Regions from separate parts of the Homo sapiens genome. Here region 1 is linked to region 2. Evidence: promoter capture Hi-C in 16 types of primary human blood cells and fetal thymus (Javierre and others, 2016). All regions are on one chromosome and are shown on one strand. Each heading gives the region's core, a stretch centred on a gene start or on the middle of the fragment in contact. The rest is flanking DNA. Distances are from core to core; before and after follow the strand shown.

Region 1 (2,963 bases), core at 389-2,888, about 21 Mb after region 2:
GAAGCTGTAGTTAGGTCAAAAGCTAGGAATTTTTTCCCTAAGTATTATATAAGGGAGAGGACAAGCAATATCAACTGTCATTCAACCACCAATAACACTTTAGTGAGCCAGGCCCTATTGTCCATCTCCAGGACACGGAGATGAGCCAGGCATTAGCTCTGCCATCAAGGACCTCCGACTGGTGGGAAGATAGGTACACCGGTAATGACAGCAGCACTGAACAAAAAGTACAAATAGATTAGTACCACAGAATGCTACAGAAACAGGTGAAGAAGAGACTAAGCTCTCGCTGAGGTTTCATTTGGGTCTTGAAGCACAAATGTTAAGTCCACTGGGTGGAGAACAAAAAGAAAGGGAAGAATGGCATGTATTCTGTGAGAAGAGACAACCAGTGCAAGAGTTTTGAGATATGCAAACACAAGAACACATGGCATATCTGGTCATGTGAGGATGGGTGGAAGAGGGCTGAGCAGTCTTGGGAAATGGGAACAACAGAATGTTGGGAAGAGAGGAAATCACATTGTGCAACAGTGCTAATGTTCTTAATGCCACTGAACTTTATACTTAAAATTGTTAAAATTGTAAATTTTATATTATGTATTGACATATTTTGTATTTGTATTAACATATTTTAATGCTGGATGAATGAATCCATGTAATGTTTAAGGATCAGTATCCTGCTGGATGCTCTAAGCCTTGCCACTCTACAAGTCTAAGGATCTAAGAATGCAACCAATGCACTGGTGTAAATTTGGGGGCATGTCAGGAATGCAGAATCTTGCCTCACCTCCTCTGCTTGACTTATCAAATAGAATCGACATTTGAACAACGTCCCCAGGTAATTTGTATACACATTAATATCTGAGAAATAGGACATCAGGATGATTTAGGATCAACCCTAGCAACATCTACGTGGAGACACATGGAGCATCACTGACTCCCGACAGGGACTCTGCCCACCTGTCACAACTTCATGGTGAGGAAGGTACTGCCCTCCTTCCTAGGTGAGCTGTTCTACCAATAGAGAGCTCTTCCCCTATGAAGTCTGTGACCCCCGCCTGCTTAGACTGCGCCTGAAGGAATTCTATAGACCCTTCTTTCAGCCCCTTAGAACCTTGTGTATATTCCAACTGGTCCCTGGGAGGTTTTTTTTTGGAACGGGGGTGCGGGGAGGCTAGAAGGGGCTCTGCTGCTAACTGGCTGTATCCTCGTACCCCTCCGGAAGGCTCAATGTCCACATCTGGAAAACGAGGATGCTAATGTAACGCGATGGAGCAAAGTTGTGTGAGAGAATAAAATGAAATAACGGATAAGACAGTTTCGTAAATTAAAAAACACTGTTTCTCCTAATAATTTTTTTAAAATCCTGTCAGACTTCACATATTAATGACAACAGCGGCTGCAAACTAACACGCCCACTAACTTGCAATATCAGAGATTATCAACAAGTCAGCACTTAACACGGGCGTATGGAGCCTCTTCTGTTCCGGCAAAGTGCCTGGGATTTGGATAATCTACCCTGGTCCGGATCGGTTCTGGATCTTTCCCGCCAGAGCTTACCTGAACCACTTTCGTGAATTCCTCATAAACCCGCTTCTTAAGGTGCGCCGCCATGCCTACCCGCGGGCCCTCTCAGCTTCCGTACACTAGGAGGGAGGCGGGGGTGGACGGATCCGGAAAACTTGCGTAGGCGCGGGGGGTGGGTGGATGACTTGCCGAGATCCCACAAGGCAGTGGGATTTGGGGAAAGAGCGACCGCTTCCTGTTGCTCGACTGCCTCGCCACTGTACGGACTGATTTGGCGGCCTACGCCGGAAGAACGGAAATAAGAGCTTCGCTTGTGGGAGGCGGGGCCTCTGGCGGGAGGAGCTGAGACTGAAAGGGTGGGCAACCCAATGGGAGCTTTGGGAGGCTGGTTGGTGGCCTCGGAGTGGCTAAGAGACTAGCGCGGCGCGGCGCGAAGGGAGGGAGGGAGGAAGTACAGGTTAAAGGGCAGAGGCGGGGTGCTCCAGAGCTAGAGGCAAAACCCGGAGCTCTGTAAGGGGTTTACGACTCGTGAAAAAACTCAGAGGCTCGGCTGACTTTCCCATCATCCTTTGCTGTACACGATGCTGTTTGTAGGTTTCCTGAGCACTGCCTTTGTTCAAGCTGTGCGCCACCTCTCTTGTTTTGGGGTGCCTTTCCATACTTCCTTATTCCAGTTTTGCAAAAGCTGCCATCCTTTAAGGCATCAATCCCTGCTCTGATAGCTATAGTACAGTAGAAGACTTCTGAGACCAAGGATAAAGCAACAAAGCTACAGACTACAGCTCTGGTTCTTGAGCAAATGGCTCAACTACAAATGCATTTATAATAACTAACCTGACAAAGATGTGACAATGGAGTGAAATAATGCAGGAACATTTTACGGACTGTAAGGTGTAGTGCACATGTTAGTGTCAGTAAATCCAAGGTCAAGTTTTACAACCTACATGAAACTAGCTGTTCATTATTTTGGTCTTTCAAAAGAATGTGGGCCAGGCGCGGTGGCTCATGCCTGTAATCCCAATACTTTGGCAGGCCGAGGCGGATGGATCACTTGAGGTCAGGAGTTCGAGACCAGCCTGGCCAACATGGGGAAACCCCGTCTCTACTAAAAATACAAAAATTAGTCGGGGCATGGTGGCACACGCCTGTAATCCCAGTTTCTTGGGAGGTTGAGGCAGAAGAATCACTTGAACATGGGAAGCGGAGGTTGCAGTGAGCCGAGATCGCGCCACTGCACTCCAGCCTGGGCGACTGAGCGAGACTCCGTTATCAAAAAAAAAAAAAAAGAATTAATGTGGGATAGTTTAAAAAAAAAAAAGCAGGAGGCTGAGGTGGATACAGAGGACCCAAAAATAAACAAAAGATAGTATTTATCCTCAAGGTCCTACAATCTGAGAAGACAGACACCCAAACTGATGGTGACAGTGCAACTGAAA
Region 2 (3,325 bases), core at 255-2,754:
CTCCAACCTGCAAGGGGCATTGCCTCACTTAAAGTCACCCACTCCAGCTGGTCTGGGAAGACAGCACCAAATCCTTAAAAGGGACCCCCAGTGCTCATCCTCTGCAAAATCCAACACCCCTCCCCTAACGCTGACCCTGCCCCAGGTGTTTCAAAGATGGGAGAGGGTATGAAGACAGTAGAGAAACCCAGTACTGTCAACCCATTGGTCAGTTAACCACCACGGAAGACTGCCCACTGTGGGTGGGTGAATAACTGTGCAGAGCCAGGCCAAGTGTGGTGGGGGGAGGGGCACATGATAGAAAAAATAAAATTAAAACACAAGATTGTTTCCTTGTCCTTGAACATTATTACTAGGAACATAGTGTGGGTGGTTGGAGATGGAAATTAATTGGCTCAGAACCAAAAAAATCCTTTCACCTGGGGTTCTGATGGGCCCCTCTGCGGTATGAGGGGCTGCAGCAATGAAGGCGGGCTCAGAGTCCCCAGGTGCGGAGGTGGCCACAGCAACTCAGAGACCCCAGCCAGGGGCCCCAGGTGACCAAGGCCACCAAGGCTGTGGCCAGAAGCTGCGATTCGCAGCGGTTCTGAGCACTCCCCACCCTCAAGAGACCAGGGGGTAGAGGGTAGCAGGGTAGAAACGAGCTGACCCCTGGCAGATAAGGCCTCCAGAAGGGCTGGGCAGCTCCAGCCCCGGAGGGGACTCGGCGCAGGCGGGGTCGCCCCTATGGACCCCAGGATCTCCAGCCGGATCCGAGGCTAGAGAGGTCGGCAGGGACAGCACGTAAACTGCTGGAAAGAGGGAGGGCCAACGGGAAGATGGAACAGCCCCGGGCAATGGGCTGTCTGGAGGGGCCCAGTGGGGAGCTCTGGACACAGAAGGGACGGCGGCAGCCGAAGAGGAGGAGGAGGAGGGGGCTGCGGTGGCGGCAGAAGCGGAGGACCTGTGAGCGGGCTGTGAAGCAGCCGGCGAACAGACGGTGGGCTGCAGACGTCGATCAGGTGGGGGCGGACTGGGGTGGCTGGGGGCGTGCCGAAGGAGCCGGGGGAGGGGGCTAGCGCGGCCCGGAGGAAGGGGAGGCAGGGGTCCCTCCAGCGGCTCTGCCCGCCCCCGGCCCCGCCCCAAGCCCTCGCCCCCTCCCCCCTTTCTTCTGGCTCTGCCAGCACGAGCTCCAAGCCATGCGCCCTCCGCCTCCGCGCACACGCGCCACCTTCCCCCGGGCCTCCAGCGTCCCCAGCGCCCTCGGCCCCTGCAAACTTTCCTGGTGACCCCCCGACCACCACCACCTCAACCCGAGGTGTCGGCTGGAAAGCACCCACTCCTTCCATGCCCCTCCCCCGCCCCATCCCGGACCCCGCCCCCTCCTTCGCCCGACCGCCCCCGCGCACTCACGCGCTCGCCCGGGGTCCGGCTCCGCTCGGCTCGGGGCCCCGATGCCAGTCCCCGCCGCCGCCGCCGCTGCTACCGCCGCCGCCGCCGCCGTCACCGCGGGACGAAGCCACTGCGAGCCCCGGCGGGGCCCCGCCCCAACTCCGCCCAGGTCCACGCCCCCAGGGCGCTTCATGAATATGCATGAGCCGGTTGGAACCCGGGAGTGGGAAGCCCGTGCAGAATTCGTCCCACCGTCGGCAAACAGGCGCGGCCCAGCACTCAATTATTCATGAGGCTTGCAGATGAGGGGCCCGCCCCAGTCTCAGACCGGGGCGAAACTGACGCAATTCAGCCGGGAGCGCTCGGGTAAAATGGCCACCGAGACGACTGCCTAGAGAAACTGCCTTGGCGGCCCCTCCCGGGCTCCGCCGCCTGCACAGAGCACAGTATCATCGAGCTACGCCGGCAAGAAGGTAGCCGCCGGCTGACTGAAGCGGCTTCCTGATACAACCACCTGAGTGCTGAGAACGCGCGCAACGTGGCCACCCTCCTGTGTCAATTCAGATTTAGAGCCACCGTGAAGAAGTCTGGCAGCTCTGCATTCCTCATTAGTGACCTTTATCTCCTTTTAGGCCCCTTCTCAGACATGGGTTCCTCCCTACACTGAAGTTTGTATACCCCCTTCTTCCCGTAAGAACAAAAGCTTCACATATAACTCCGTACTTTGTTGCACCACCACCAGGCTGCAACCACCACCACTCTACGCACACGCTCATCCTCCCCGACTCTCCAGGCTCAGGTTTCCACTCCCCCGGCTGCGGGAAGGACAGTCAATCCTGATTTCATTATCGAAAGCCTTGGAAGACCCTTGACTCATAGGTAAGGATGCAGCCAAGAGCTGCCTCCCCCTAGCTTGGTTGGCTAATGGAGTGTAACTGGGAGAAACTTCCTAATCAGATCAGCTCTCATTTCTAGACTCTCAGGTGGCCCATCCGGGCAGAGGCGGGTGAAAACCAATGCTCGTCCAGCCGGGAACAGAACAGGATGTACCTCGAGACTTGCTTCCCGGCTGGCCAGGAAGGCCCTGCCCAGTCTGACCAGAGCAGTAAACACCACCAATAAAAGTGGGAGCAACACACCAAGGCTACAAAGAAAGCATGAGGACATGGTTTCCAAAGTCAGTTCCCTTTATTAAATCATTTTCACAGACCAGAAATACAAAATGAAAGTAGAAATAGGCCCCAGGTAGGAGCTACAGGCCTGGCCTCACATGACCCCTGCTCCAGCAACTTGAACAGGACAAGCAGCAGCTACATCCTTAAGGTCGGGAAAGTAAGATGAGGATTTGGATCCTGCATTGCCCTGCCTCCCACCCTATCTCTCCCCAAATTATAAACAGCCATCCTTGGGAAGCAGCAGAGTTAAGACGTCTCCCCACTGCCCTAGTGACATACACACCAACAGGAGAGCATGTTCAGATGGCACAGAATCCAGGGACTGCATTTCATGAGGAGAAACTGGTACCAAAATATGGGTGGGGAGTCGGGGGGTGTGAGAAGGCAAGCGCAAAGAGAACCTTCCTCCGTTTCTACTCATCGGATCCTGACGCTGAGTCCTCTGAGCTGGGGGGAGTACTGGCTAGTTCTTCTTCTTCAGAGTCCTGAAAACCAAAGGTGTCTTAAGGGAAAAGCTGGAGTCCTGGGTGCCCCACCCACTCTTCAGTGAAGGGCCCGCAATTCCCTACCGCCCCCAACTACAGCACCCCCCTTCAGAACCTCAGAATTCCACCATCCACTCCAACTCATTACTCTTACAGACCAACCCCACACAGACACACATGCCCCTCACCCTGCCCAGCCCACAGGCCCCACATTCCTGCCGCACCTCGCTCCTCCTCCTCTTCTTTTTGCTCTTGTTCTCTCCCGAAGAGCTCTCATCACTAGACACAAACTCT

The links. Contacts are between HindIII fragments. The CHiCAGO score rates a contact against its expected background, and 5 or more counts as called.
Region 1: the fragment with the promoter of INTS4 here is called in contact with the fragment with the promoter of TNKS1BP1 in region 2 in 1 of 17 cell types (naive CD8 T cells); the score reaches 6.3 in naive CD8 T cells.

The regions. Positions count from the first base shown.
Region 1 is chr11:77,993,030-77,995,992 of GRCh38, forward strand. It overlaps INTS4 (integrator complex subunit 4), which reads right to left and starts at 1,639. Exons shown (of 23, transcript NM_033547.4): 1 at 1,561-1,639. The coding sequence starts at 1,614. RefSeq lists an enhancer at 1,554-1,753 and a silencer at 1,954-2,023. The HindIII fragment of the contact is 5,814 bases long and covers 1-2,963 here.
Region 2 is chr11:57,323,448-57,326,772 of GRCh38, forward strand. It overlaps TNKS1BP1 (tankyrase 1 binding protein 1), which reads right to left and starts at 1,505. Exons shown (of 12, transcript NM_033396.3): 1 at 1,393-1,505. SSRP1 (structure specific recognition protein 1) reads right to left here. Exons shown (of 17, transcript NM_003146.3): 16 at 3,256-3,325; 17 at 2,541-3,031. The coding sequence ends at 2,960. RefSeq lists a silencer at 1,309-1,588 and enhancers at 1,719-1,768, 1,798-2,671. The HindIII fragment of the contact is 11,807 bases long and covers 1-2,072 here.